Linked DNA regions of Homo sapiens: region 2 is linked to region 1. The links are contacts of gene promoters, found by promoter capture Hi-C in human tissues and cell types (Jung and others, 2019). All regions are on one chromosome and are shown on one strand. The core of a region is centred on a gene start or on the middle of the fragment in contact, and the rest is flanking DNA. Distances in the headings are between cores, read along the strand shown. Region 1 has its middle 170 kb from the start of SLC41A2. Region 2 holds the start of CHST11 (carbohydrate sulfotransferase 11).

Region 1 (7,409 bases), core at 2,734-5,233:
CCAGGTGGTGTGGTTCACTGCATATCCATGTGGCAAGGTCATATAGGCAGTTGGAAAAAATCTGGAATCTGAGGGATAAGTCCAGGCTGGAAAGCCATCATGGGGAATGTATTTATTATTGGATAATCTTTGAAAGGACTGGAGGAATCATCTCAGGCTGAGTCTCCAGGAACATCTCCCTGAACCATACTCCAGGACTGGTCTGAGAAGAGATCTGCTGCGGCCACTGCTGCTATGGACTCCAAAAATGTTGCACCTCTGCCTTCCCCCAGTGCCAGCAAAATAGGCGCCAGGTGTCCTAGCACGTTCTTCTTGCAACTAACTTTAGAATCAAAGCTCTCAAAAGAGCCTATGCTGGTTGGCTGAATCAAAGTCTATATTCTAATTACAAGGAGATGGGAAATGTAATATTTGTAATGTCTATGAGAAGATGAAATTAATATTATGAAAAGGTATCAAAATATGGGGAGAGTGCTCAAAGATTTCAAGCATCTATAAGTGACTTTTGTTCATCACATTCTGGGAGGAACTGAGATAACTTAGGAGAAAATGAAGATCATAAAACGAATCTAATTAAGAGCCACAAAGATATGGATCGATATCATATCCATCCATTCAAAGTACTAACAAAAAGAAGCAAAAAACAAGAAGTAGGTTGTGAAAAATTAAAGATATAAATGCATAAATGAAGAATGTAATACATTGGGTGAAATAAATAGATGAAAACATCTCCCAGAATATAGAACAACAACAACAAAAACACCCCAAAGAAATGGAAAATCTGAGGGGAAAAAAATAAGAAATACATAAGATCAATCCAAGAGGGTCCAAATTTAACTAAGACATCCTAGAAAGGAAAAGAGAATAAAAAGCATGAAACGTTTTTTTTTTTTTTTAATCCCAGAACTAAAGGAAGATATTCAAAAAAGTTTCCTAAGTTCCAAGCTCAATGAGTGCAAAATGACCCACATAGCTATAGTACCATGATGTTTTGGAACATGGAGGATAAATATAAAGATGAAAGAGAAGGGAGCCACTTTGCTTTGAGCAAAGGAGGAAAATGATCTAACGTTTTAATAATAAATGTTAATAAGCTAACATTTTAATAGGCTTACTATGTGCGATCAGCTGTTTTCAGCACTTGACCTATATTGGTTAATTTCAACCTCACTACAGTCCTACAAGGTAGCTACTCTTATTATTACCATTTTTCAGATGAAAATATCAAGGAACTTACCCATGGATACATACCTTGTGAGTGGCAGAACTGAGACTCAAACCCAGCAGTCTGGCTTAGTACTCTTAACCACTATTTTCTTTCATTAGTGACAGTGAATTCTAGAAAGCAGTAAAGAAATGCCTTCAAAGTTCTGAAGAAACATAATTTTAAATGGAAAATTACCCAAAATATTAATCAAGTATTAGAGGGATATAATACATTTTCACACATGTAAAAACTTAGATATACAAAAACCTATCTTCAAACATGCATGTGTGTGCAAGCATGTTTGTTATATAAGTTATGCATGTTTATAGGTTATATATAACATGCATATACAGGTTATATAACATGTTATAACATGCATATATAGGTTATATATGCATGTTTGCATATAGGTTATATATAGATACACACATATATATAGGTAAGTATATACACTTTCTGAAAAAGTAAATTAAGGATTTACTGCAGCAAAAGGAAAAATAACTTGAAGACAAACAATGGCATGACCTCCAAGAACAGTGAACCAATTAAAGAGTGCAACAAAAAGTAATCCCAGATAACTTCTATGCAAATGGGCATAAGCACTGGCCATCTTGCCCCTATTTTTACACTTCTTTGGTAAGAAACTCAATTCCGGGAGACAGATTTTTCAGTTTGGAGTCTATCTGTATGCTTCCTCTTGTACTGAGACAGATATGATATCTGTTCATTTGCCAGCCTATAGGTATGGTCTGGACACAGGCTGCAGGTAGAATCTGATGTCGTTTCCCAGGGAACTCAGGCAGACACAGCAGGGAGCAAGTGGGGCTGCTTCAGCATAAAATGCTGCTGAAAAGCTATTGCCCTCTGCTATGTGCAACATTCCATGGCTTCAATTCAAGGATAAAGCCCTGTTCTGGCCTCTCAAGTTTCTGCAGCTTTGGGATCCTGGGAGACAGTGCCTTAGGAGTAGACACCAGGGCTGTCAGGGCAGGAATGGCACCAACAGGAGTAAAGCCCCTACCCAAACAGTGTCTTGAGCTTTGAGCATGAACAAAGGGGATCCTGAGCTGAAGACCCTGAGAGGACAACTCTTGCCAAAGTGAAGTGAGAGACCCCCAGGGACTCCTAGAAATAATTGGGTGAGGCTTAAAGAGAGGGAGCTAGTGTTTCTGTGATATGCAAATAGACTAATGAGCAGGATAAATCTGAGTACTTACTGTAAACATATTGTGAACATAAGACCTTATTTGTACGCAGGTTGGTGAGGTCTGGGGAAACCTGAATTATATTTATCCAGCCTAGCATTGTCATTATCATCATCATTAACATCCTATTCTGCACAAACTCAGTATAATAGCAATTGTGCTTTATCTGAACTTCTTTTTGGATGCAAAATGATTTCAGTCTATGTGTCCTTTTCTACCTTTCCCATTCCAGCCTTGCTATTCATTCTGTGGTCCACAGACCAGCAACATAAGCATCACCTGAGAACTTTTTTGAAATGAAAAAGTTTGAGAATGTCAGGCCTCACCCCAGGCCCACTGAACCAGAATCTGTAACAAAATCCCCCAGTGACTTACATGCACATCAAAGTTTGAGAAGTTAATAACCACTCTTAAGGAGTGGTTATTGACCTGGCCTGGAACTGCTAAATTCCTGGAACTACTAAACTCCAATGATAAATGTCTGGCTCCTGTAACTCTCAGAATCACCTGGAGAGCTGGGTTTACAGTTCTGGAGTCTGGGAGCATGGCACTGGCATCTGGCAAGGGCCTTCATGCTGTGTCATCCCATGGTGGAAGGTGGAGGGGCAAAAGAGGAAAGAGATGAGAATGAGTGGGAGCCAAACTCGCTTTTGTGACAACCCACTCAAGAACTAGCCCATTCCCACAATAACAACATTAATCTACTTACGAGACCAGAGCCCTCATGACCTCATCACCTTTCATTAGGCCCCACCTCCCAACATGGTTGCATTAGGGATTAAGTTTCCAGCACATGAACTTTAGGGGACACACTCATGCCATGGCAGCCTCATTACAGATTCAAATATGCATCCTTTCTTCTTTCTACCATAGGCTTACTTACTTCTGACTCCCTTTTTCTCAATAAATGATTCTTCGGCGACGATTGACAGGAGTCAGCCATTGAGGAGCTGGGAGATAAGGAGGAAATGAGCTCACTGGATAAAATAGATAACGAGGAGGCCAGCCCTAACACTGGCAAAAACACACATCAAAGTGAAATGAGGGTAGTAGGGAGATTATGAAGGACCTTGTTGGCTGGGCAGAAAAGTCCATTTAATGTGGTGGGAGAAATGAAGGCCAGTGAAGATTGGAGAGAAGTGGGGAGAAAGGATACGCTGAAATTTAAGTTGAATTTAGTAAACAATTTGTATTTGAAGATACATATTTACCCACTTAAAACCAAGCATTGAAATGATGGTCATTTAAGCATTCTTCTCAGAAAACTACCTACCTAGGTGTTTCTCATACAAATCTGCTCTGGAGCCAATAATGACATTTAATAAAGTCTTGCTAATTACGTTCTCTAACGAATTGTGAGACTGCTTAATCCACAGTGCAGAGATTTGTATAGTCAATAACTGCGTTAAATAGCCTCAGTTACTTACATACGGTGTCTATTGGTGTTAATTGTATCCATTAACCCAGACAGAATTGTTTTAAATTTCTGCAAGATGGTTAATGTGCTGATTCCTCTGAGGCCACTAACCACATTTTTCCTTTGGCCACATTCATAATTGGGGCTTAATAAAGCTTCTTAATCTGAATTTAGCCTCTGGATAAACGACCAAGAAGTCTAAAATTCTTCCTCATGTGGAATACTTCATAATATGCTTGAATTGAAACTCAAAATTAACCCTATTGGTGTTTCCCCATTTCTTTGATTTAGGATCTTTAAGATGAGAGCATCCTTCAATGATTAGGAGAACTACAAGATGGAAATAAAGACTGTATTACTTACAGGTCCTTGGGCGGGACATGGCATGCCTAGAGGCCACACAGGGAGGTCAGACAGCACAGGCAGGGAGAGAAAAAAGAGACCCATGGGCCAATGCCTTTATTGGGTATTGGGCATTATCCAAACAGGTTTCCTGCACGGAGTTTTAATTGGGTTTAAACCAAGCAGGCACAAGTTCCAGGTCACACAATAACTGATACATGGTCACTATGGCAGATCTGCACAGTCTCTGTGGGGTGTAAGAGTGAGTGGGGCCAGTCAAGCAGGCTGCATCTAGCTGTCCCATGGGGAAGTGGTCACTAGGGAGCAGTTGTATAAGGCAGATATCTGGATGGGGCACATTGAGGAACTCGGCAGGGAGTTGGACTGGAAATAGTGTCAGGAATGACTGAGCCCTGCTTCTGGTATGAGAAAGTCTAATGTATTTAAAATGGATGCCAAGGCAACACAAAATTAATACATAATTGTATAAACATAAACATAAATTTTGTTGGGTATAGTGAATTAAGCATTCAGTTTACCCAACAAAAAATTGACTGAAAGAGGGGGCCAGACACAGTGGCTCACACCTGTAATTCCAGGGCTTTGGGAGGCTGAGGCAGGAGGCTCACATGAGGCCAGGAGTTGGAGACCAGCCTGGGCAACAGAGAGAGATCCTGTCTCTAAAATAATACTTTTTTTAAAAAAGTTGGCAGAAAGATATACTAAATAAAAATACATAGGCTTGTATCCTTCAAATGCCCTTAAAGAAAGATATTTATCATTGGAATTTAGTAGTTCCAGGAGCCAAGGTCTTCCTCAGCTGAACAAGTCACCCCCATCTACCTGGTCGACTGGGCTTGAAATGTCCCTATATTTGGCCCTTTACTTTCAGGGGCACCTACTGTTAATATTCTCAAGGGCACTATCTTACTTCTTATGGTGCATTTCAAAGGTTGTGGTTGATTTGTTTGGGTCCAAAAATAGTATAGTCCAATAATCTGATCAGTAGCCAGACATAACATCACAATTGAAGTTGTATTTACTATATTTTGTTGCACACTAGGTCTTAGGGAGATATCAAGCTGGGTAACAGTTGATAGAACAAGTTAGAATATAATTTGCCCAATATATGTCTGCAGACGTTTTGGAAGCCTGGGAAATGCAATGAAGAACTCTCGTCCTGTATGCTTCTGGCGGTGTCATATAGAGGATCACTTGCTCACCAAAATCGCCTTAAAAGGATGCATTAAATCCTTAAATCACTATCCTGTGATGATATCAATCAACATGGTTTTATCACTAATGATAGTGATAGACAGTAGCCTGGGCAATGAGGGTGCCACAAGTAAACCTGACATCCCCTGTCGTAAACGCTACAGCCAACTTCATTTGAAAATCTCATTTAGAACACACTTTTGGCACGTTTCTTTCTCTTCTAGGACACACAGCTTTTTAAAAAATACAAAAATAGGCTGAGCACAGTGGTTCATGCCTGTAATCCTAACACTTTGGGAGACCAAGGCAGGTGGATCACCTGAGGTCAGGAATTCAAGACCAGCCTGGCCAACAAGGTGAAACCATGTCTCCATTAAAAAAATACAAAAATTACCTGGGTGTGGTGGTGCATGCCTGTAATTCCAGCTACTCAGGAGGCTGAGGCTGGAGAATCGCTTGAACCCAGGAGACAGAGGTTACAGTGAGCCGAGATAACGCCATTGAACTCCAGCCTGGGGGACAGAGCAGGAATCCATCTCAAAATAATAATAATAATACAAAAATAATACATGTTCATTGCAGACAATTTGAGAAAGAGAAGCATAAAGAGAAAATAATCTAAAATCTCACTGTAAGATAATGAACATTTCCTTCCAATCTCTTAAAAACGCAGTTACATATTACATGTATATTTTGTTCTGTGTTCTTTTATGTGATGGTCAGTCAGATGTGGCCACAAGAGGACACAGGAGAGGCTCAGGAAAAAAACAGTTTATTGTATTCACAGATTCTGGAAACAGGAAGTGTGGCACTCCTGCAGGGTCACATGGGGAAGCCACATGGGATGATCAAGGGGCAGAAAGCAGGGGCAAGGGGAAAGTCTAGGCCAGAGGTTACAGGGGTTTCCTGGGAAGGGCAGGCTGAACTGTTTAGAACTGGCTAGTTTGAATAATTTTGGTGGGCTCTAAACTATAGGAGTGGTCCCTGGTTGCCCAGTACCTGGCCCTGGGGTGACTAAAGCCAAGGAATACTGTCTCCTGGGAAGTATAGGCCAGATGAAGGAGGTGTGGCTCTGGAGTGGCTAGTTGGCATATCAAAGACATGCTCCCAGCTGAGTCCTTTGCTTTCCCTAAGAATTGGCTAGCCCCAGAGAGTAGCCTGTCTCCAGCCCAGAAGGATTTTTTGTTTGAATCTCCTCTGTTGTTTTTTTTTAATAGGACAAGAACTTGTTTATTTTATTTATTTATTTATTTTTGCCAAATAAAGCAATTGGACAGCGTTCCTTCCTCTTTTCTTTTTTAAAAAAAAAATTCCATAGGTTTTTGGGGAACCGGTGGTATTTGGTTACTTGTTTTGTTGTTGTTGTTGTTTTTTTTTTTTTTTTTTTTTTTTTGAGACAGAGTCTCACTCTGTCGCCCAGGCTGGAGTGCAGTGGCGCGATCTCGGCTCACTGCAACCTCCGCCTTCTGGGTTTGAGCGATTCTCCTGCCTCAGTCTCCCAAGCAGCTGGGATTACAGGCACACGTCACCACGCCCGGCTTATTTTTGTATTTTTATTAGAGACGGGGTTTCCCCATGTTGGCCAGGCTGGTCTCGAACTCCTGACCTCAGGTGATCCATCCGCCTCGGTCCCCCAAAGTGCTGGGATTACAAGCGTGAGCCACCTCGCCCAGTTGAGTAAGTTCTTAAGTGATGATTTGTGAGATTTTGGTGCACTCATCACTCAAGCAGTATACATTATACCCAATTTGTAGCCTTTTATCCCTCACCCTTCCCACCCTTTCCCCCGGAGTCCCCACAGTCCATTGTATCATTCTTATGGGTTTTTAAGAAGTCAAAACATCACGATATACAGACAATAAAATGTATACAAGATATATTTTATTGTATATATATATATATATATATATATTTTTTTTTTTTTTTTTTTTTTTTTTAATGCATATTTCATTCTTCTGAGCCCCATCCCGAGTCTTCCACTTCAAAGTCAGTGTGGGCCCTTTGGGAGTCCCTTCTTATTTCT
Region 2 (7,409 bases), core at 3,469-5,968, 330 kb before region 1:
TCCACAGTTTTAAATTTTTCTCCCAGGAAGCCTTCATCAAATCCCTCAGGCAAGGTGGCACAAAGCCTGCCTGAAATGGAGGGGGCGTGGAGAAGTGGAAGTAGGAGGATAACACACACAAATGAATATTTCAATAAATTATCATGCCATGAATGTCAAAGTGTGCTCAAGAAATGCTAATGTCCTTACTGAGGAGCAGCAAGAGGCAGGCAGGGGGCCTGGAAAGACTCCATAGAAAGACCTGGATGATCTGGTGGATGGGGCCAGCAGAGGCGCTGGCAGGGGCAAAGTGAAAAAAACACAGTGAAGGCACCTGGTGGGGTGAGGAGGGGTACTGGGGTGGGTGGAGGGCCAGGAGCTGAAGGTTTCCTAGTTATGCAGATAGAGTTTAGGAGTTGATCAGGGGCCACCAGTTGAGAAATATTTGAGAGGGATGAGTGGCTCACGGAACTGATTTCTGGGCTGTGCCTGGAGACGGGGAGGTGGCCAGGGCTATCCAGAGGGCAGCTGGAGTCGGCTTAGGGTAGGGCCCAAGGGTCCCACAGACCTGGTCCTCAGTAAGGGAGGGAGAGGAGTCTTTCGGGCCTAAACTAGGTGGAGGAGCAAAGGCGGCATCAGAAAGTCAGACAAGGCCTGGCGCGGTGGCTCACGCCTGTAATCCCAGCACTCTGGGAGGCTGAGGCAGGCGGATCACTTGAGGCCAGGAATTGGAGACCAGCCTGGCCAACATGGTGACACCAATCTCTACTAAAAATACAAAAATTAGCTGGGCATGGGGGTGCATGCCTGTACTGAAGCTACTCAGAAGACTGAGGCAGGAGAATTGCTTGAACCCAGAAGGCGGAGGTTACAGTGAGCTAAGATCACGCCACTGCACTCCAGCCTGAGTGATAGATTCTACCTCAAAAAAAAAAAAAAAGAAGAAGAAAGTGAGACAGAATAATGAGGGATAGTCCTTTCCTCCTTCCTCTCCTCTCTCCTTTATTTTCTTCTCTTCCTTCTTCCCTCTCTCCTTCCTCCCTCTTCATCTTGTCTTCCCTTCCTTCCTCCCTCTCTCCTTTCCTTCGTCCTTTCTTCTTTTCTCTCCCTTTCCCTCTCCCATCCTTCCTCCTTCTCTTTCCCAGGCAATTCTTTTCTTTTCTTCCCCAACCCTTTCTCCTCTCCTTCCCTCCCCCTTCGTCTCTTCCCTTCCCCTCTTTTTCTCCCTTTCTCTTTCCCTTCTTCAATCCCTTTCTCTCTTGCTGTCTTTTTCTCCACCTTGTTCAGAAAAGCCTGCAAAGCAGAGCCTGCTCTCAGAGTCATGTCACGAGTAACCCATTTGTGTTACTTGCGGTTTACCTACCTGTAGAAAATTTGTACCCTAAGATCTCCACATACTGCGGGCAAATGGTTTATAATTCAACTTCACAAATATTTACTGTGCTCTGGTTAACTGAGTATCCTTTGTGCTAGAGGTGCCAGAGAGATGCAAATGGCAGCGCCAGTCCTTGGAGGAGCCAGTCTGGGGCCCCTGGCTGATGTTGGCAGAAGACACATCCCTCTCTCCCTTCAAGGATGCTGAAGAGCTCTCTGTCTACTAGTACCCTGGGCCCACTTTTCTCTCCAACAAGGTGCAGAAAAGGGCATCGTTGCCAGGTTTGCAAGATCGTAACAAGACAGTGCATTGTAGGTATAATCTGCCGGAATGAGGAGGCGCTCAGCCTGCGCGGATTGGAAGGGCCACATAAACATCTGTCAGTCCATTGACAACAGCACCCAGAAGCCCGAATTGTGACTTCACACCGATTTCTTCCCCTGCTATAAATTCTACAAGATCGTCAACATAAATAAGACTTTCTCCTCAACCAGTTTTTCAGGGCCATGCCAGGCTTTAAAATGGGCAGGCCCCTGGCCGGGCGCGGTGGCTCACGCCTGTAATCCCAGCACTTTGGGAGGCCGAGGTGGGCGGATCACGAGGTCAGGAGATCGAGACCATCCTGGCTAACATGGTGAAACCCCGTCTCTACTAAAAAATACAAAAAATTAGCCGGGCGTGGTGGCACGTGCCTGTAGTCCCAGCTAGTCGGGAGGCTGAGGCAGGAGAATGGTGTGAACCCGGGAGACGGAGCTTGCAGTGAGCCAAGATCGCGCCACTGCACTCCAGCCTGGGCGACAGAGTGAGACTCCGTCTCAAAAACAAAACAAAACAAAACAAAACAAAAATGCAGGCCCCAGTTTCACTTGCATGTTGTTGAATTTGGAGAGTCAATCAATCAAGCCAGGTCCCACAATGAGCACAATGCCAATCTGCAGAATCTTTCAGGGCAAAAGGGAATTTAGAAAGATGAGGGAGAAAGGATCTGAAGACTGATCCGTTCCTCTTTCAATGTTCAAAGTATAAAATTTTTCTCCTCAGTTTTATCAGTTAATACTGTCCTTTACTTGGCTAATATTTATTATATAGCATAAGATGTAACAAAATTTTCTTAGGCTAGGAATGGAAAGAAAGCAATGATTCTAACTGTAGTTGGGCAGTTTAGAGTGTGATGAAGGAGAAAACAGAATTTTTTCATCACCCCTCAATGTGCATAGAACAACAGAATCACAGACCATTACCACTGACCTTTGTCATAGATTTTAGAGGTGATCTAATCTAACTTCCTAGTCCAAGTAGGCATTACCTCTCTGCCTCTGACTTATTTGTACCTACTATGTACCAGTCATTGTGCTGGGCATTAGAAAGAGACAGAGATGAAGACAACTTGGATCTCCAGGAAGGAGTTCAGCCTAGTGGGTACAGTGGCCCAAAAGAGGTTTGGACCTAGTGCTCACAGCGCAGAGGAGGAAAGTTGCAATTTCAGGTGAGAAAACAGCAAAGACTTCTTGGGAGAGGTGGTAGCTTATGTGTCACAGCCTTAATCCTCACTGTGTTTGGGCAGGTTCCTGATTGTGGGAATGCAAGAATGGATGTTGGGCATGATTCACCATCCTCCCCCACCATGTGGGCCAACTCCATGATCTCTGTGACTCACAGGGAATTGGACTTCTGATCTCTTCCTTGACCCTGTGACTTCCCAAACTGCCTTGTGCATGTCCAGGCTTTGGGGCAGGTAACTGAAGTCTTTGGCCTATGAGGTGAGAGGTCACTTGGGTGACCTGGGAGTAAATCCCTTCCCCTCCCTGGCTCTGTAAAGCCAAGTGTTAAATGAGAGACTTATATTCCAGGCAAAGGCTTTGTGCAAATGCCCATCTAAGCCATGCCCTCTGCAAGGAATCCCCTTTCTTAGTGATGATGGTGGGGAGGTGGGGAGGGTGCAGTGCAACTCCCATTCCTGATCTCCTATCACCAGAGCAGAAGAATCACTGGAGAACGACTCTGTCTGAAGCTTGTTCAGCCTGGCTTCCTTGAGCAAGCAACTTATTCACAGGTAAGTCCAAATTAATACAGCGCACACCGGCTACATAAATATTGTGCTTTGATTGTCTTCTGTAATCAAAGGCAAGGCTGCTGAGTTTGTTACTTTCCCCACCATGCAACTGCTGGAGGAGAACTCTGGGGGAAGGGAACTGAGGTTGCCCAGGTGGTTTTTGTTGCATGTGTCTAACTGCAAGTTGTGTCTCTGTCTATCGAGGGGAGGATAAGGCCCATTACATTCAGATTCAATAAGAATTTATCAAATGCCTATTTTGTGAGAGGCATTGAAAGACACAGTATCTTATTTCATTTTTAATTGAATTAGTAATGACTTGATAAGGCACAAAGGTTAGTCTAACTAACATTTTTTTTTTCCCTGACATACGAGTGATCCCTACACTATTGGCTGTGTCCACTTTATTGATTGTGAAACAGCCTAAATGCATGGAATTGGAAACTGGAAGTCATTCTACACAATACAAGAAAGCAGCACCATCTTTCCATGTACCTGCCAGTGCTATGGCTGGCTTGGCTTTTCCAGCAGTTTTCTGGACTTGGTTGAGGTGGCTTCCTAGGGGCATTTTCTCACCCCCTCCCAGCTAAGACTGCTGTTAATTTTGAATAATTTGGAGGATGCTCTACCCTTTGGGGTAGCAGAGTTTTGCAACCCACAGATCCCTTTTGCCTTGAGGAATGGTGGTGATGGTGGGTGTCAGAGATTCTGTCTGTATAAGTCCCCGGGAAAGCTCAGCTGTCGCCTGACCCGAGGGTCGTGCAGTTTCCTTAACCCTGACTTTAAGTCAGCCCTCTTTAACCCCGACTCCCAAGCTGGGCTGTCCTTTGAAAGAAAAACGAAACCGCCCAGTTCTGAGCGTCGGAAAATGGGCACTCGCTCCCTGGGGGTTTGGGGCAACTTCCCCGCTACGTCGCCCAGGGATTTTAAATAATTGCCAGCCACCAGAAACCCCCTAACCCTTAATTCTTCCCTCCGAGACCCAGCCCGCTGCTTGCCACTTCCCTCTCCAAACGCTGGCGGGGGTGGGTGGCAGCACCGAGGCGATTTTCTTCGTCTTTTTTTCCTCCGGGTTTTGTCATGGAAACGCTGACACAACCTCCAGACGGCGGCCGAGCCCGGCCGGGGACTGAGGGCTTTTGGGACCCTGCGGGAGCGCGGCGCGCACACCGCACTCCCCGGGCAACAGCTGGACGCGACCATATCCCGGGTAGGGGCGGGGGGAGCGCGACGCTCCGCCCCGGCGCTAGGGTCCCTCCCTCCTCCCGGCTCTCCGCAGGCGCCCTCCCCTCGCCGGGGGCCGCGAGTTGCATTTGGTAAAACCCAGCCCCGGAATATATAGATCGTTGGAGCGCAATGAAGTAGCCTTTGGAGAGAAGGGAGAGGGCCCGTCGGACAGCCACAGCGGCCAGCGCAGCGGCAGCGGCGGCGGCACCACCATCACCGCTCGCACCCCAGCCGCCCGGCCCGCGACCAGGCAGCGGCGGCCGCCGGCGGGATCGGAGGAGGCGGCGGAGCGGCGAGGAGGAGGAGCAGGAGCGCGCAGCCAGCGGGTCCACGCATCTCAGCACTTCCAGACCAACTCCGGCACCTTCCACACCCCTGCCCGGGCTGGGGGCTCCGAGAGCGGCCGCGAAGCGACTCCGATCCTCCCTCTGAGCCTTGCTCAGCTCTGCCCCGCGCCTCCCGGGCTCCGGTCCGCGCGGCGGGGTCCCTGCTCCTGCGCCCCGGGCGCGCTTCCCGGACACCCCGGTCCCCGCAGCCAGGACAAAGCCATGAAGCCAGCGCTGCTGGAAGTGATGAGGATGAACAGAATCTGCCGGATGGTGCTGGCCACTTGCTTGGGATCCTTTATCCTGGTCATCTTCTATTTCCAAAGTATGTTGCACCCAGGTAGGGGGCGCGTTAGCGTGGTTTTGTTGGATATTTTCTTCTCTCTCGCGCTCTAGCTCGCTCCGCCTGATTTCTGCCTCTTCCAACCCTACCTCTCCGCCTTCGGCCTCTTCGGGGCTCCTGGCTGCCCAGAGCTCCTGGCTGCCCAGATCTACCCGGGTCACCGCGTCGGGATGGGGAGGAGAAGGGAAGGTGTGCTTCGCCCTCTTCTTCCTACCGGCTCCGGGCTGGAGGATGGGACCAGGAGGGGCGGTAGTTTTTTTTTTTTTTTTTTTCTTCTTCTTTTTTTCTTTGTGTCCCTTGTCTGTCTGTCTGCGAGGTAGCAGGGAAACGGAGAGGTGTGGGAAGCAACCGGGGGTGAGGGGCTGGTTTGAGGAGAACGAAACTCCCTCCCTGCTGCTGCCGAGGTCGGAGGATGAAAGAGTTACCCGGAGCCGGCTGCTCTGCGCCCGGGCGAGCCGCCTCTTCCTGGTTGCCGGGCCGGGGGCGAAGGGTGTACGCCCCGGCGAGGTTGCGAGTCCCTGCAGCAGGCTGGGAGCCCGGGACTGGGCTCCCACGTGTCCCGGGCTCCGCGCAGAGCTGAGCAGGTGTGGAGAGTGGTCGGGTGCCCAGCGTTGCCCCTCCACCACGCGCCGGCCGTTTGCCCCCGGGGTCCGGCTCCGCAGTGACCTTGCGGCTGGTGCCCCGGGGCCTGCTCCAGCCCCCAGCCCTGAGCTGGAAACTCCGAGCTCCTGGGTCACGCCTTGACCACTGCAGTTTTGGAGGAAACTTTGGCCAGGTCCTGGGCTGACCGTCCGTTTGCATCCCCCACTTCTGGGATCCGAGCAACGGGAATCCCCCGGGCGGCGTGGGAATGAACCCCATTCCTCCGGTCCCTTGTGGCTCAGGCAAAGTTCCACGTCCGAAATCTGGACTGGGGGAGGGACGAGGCTCGTCGCTTCCTAGGGGTGCGAGGGAAAGTTTGGGTTCTGGAGAGGGAGGGGCGCCCTCGAGCGCGGCGGCCGGGGGTGAGCAGCTCGGCTGCGAAGCCCAACAGGTAGAACGTTCCGAGAAGCCTTCCGGGTAACGCGGGTCTCCCCGCCAAGCCGTGGCTCCCCTGCTCCCTTTTACCCTCCCTTAGCAGCCCCCTGCCGGGCCACGTTGGCTCAGAAATCCATTTTCTACGCCTCCGAGTTGCCTTTCTCAGCGTAGTCACAGCAATAATTTGCTTTTCTAATTGCAAGGAGGAGGGAGGTGGAAACGCATTTCCTTCCAGGGAAGTGGGGTTGGTGTTTTTCATTTTTGCCTCCCGCCTTCTCCTTTCACTGTGTATCTAACACTTTAAACAGACGCAGTCCCGAATTCATCAAGCCTGCGTTTGGGTCGATGGCAGAGGAATAAAGCTGTTCTTTCCATCAAACAGGCAGGGCTGCAGGCTGCAGATTCCTTGACAGCGCAGGGACAGACGGCCCCTTTGCCCCACTCGGTCTGGAGCAGTTGTTAAGGCAGCCACACTGCCAAGGATATGGTCCGACTCTACCACATGTAACCTCAGGACGTCCGAGCCAGCCCTGTTAAAGATGGCTTTTGTTTGCAGCTGGGTATTTTTAGTTTAATGTCAGCAAACTACAGCGGTGTTTGTCTCCTCACCCAAACCTGCGGTTGTGAAACTTATAAAGGAATTTAAAAATGGACCTGGCTTGCATTCCGGCAGGCAGGCCTTGGTTGCAGTGGGCAGGGCCAGACAGCCAGGGGTATCTCAGAGTGCCAAGCTCCAGGGCCCACCGGAGACCGGGCCAGACTCACCCCAGAGCGCCAGGGGACTGGTGGTGTACAGATACACTCGGGTTCAAACAGTTTAAACAAGGGGCCGGTGATTTGGTCTAGACTCTAGAGCTGTGTTCAGGTTTCGCTGGGACCGTGAATGCCAGTAATGCTCTGTACGAATGCCCAGAACACGGATGAGTGTCAGCCTTCAGCAGGAATGCGCTTGAGCTTCTGTGTACCTGTTAATTGCCCAGGGAAATACAATTGTCATGGAATTCTTTGTGAGAATTGGGAAATAACTTTCTAGCCAAAGATACTAGAAAGAAACTTCCAACTTGTAATTGTCACTTTGTGAAAATTTCC

The links. The method cuts DNA at HindIII sites, captures the fragments that hold promoters and counts their contacts. A contact is called where the count stands out against the background at its distance.
Region 2: the fragment with the promoter of CHST11 here is called in contact with a fragment that was not itself captured in region 1 in 1 of the 25 tissues and cell types used here (spleen).

What each region holds. Positions count from the first base shown.
Region 1 is chr12:104,782,708-104,790,116 of GRCh38, forward strand. No RefSeq gene overlaps it. Among named protein-coding and RNA genes, the nearest start is that of SLC41A2, 170 kb to the right of the region's middle. The HindIII fragment of the contact is 6,678 bases long and covers 645-7,322 here.
Region 2 is chr12:104,452,230-104,459,638 of GRCh38, forward strand. It overlaps CHST11 (carbohydrate sulfotransferase 11), which reads left to right and starts at 4,719. Exons shown (of 3, transcript NM_018413.6): 1 at 4,719-5,300. The coding sequence starts at 5,183. RefSeq lists enhancers at 106-608, 4,388-4,437, 4,458-4,537, 5,458-5,507 and silencers at 4,608-4,737, 4,818-4,987, 5,028-5,307, 5,898-6,037, 6,198-6,257. The HindIII fragment of the contact is 13,105 bases long and covers 1-5,430 here.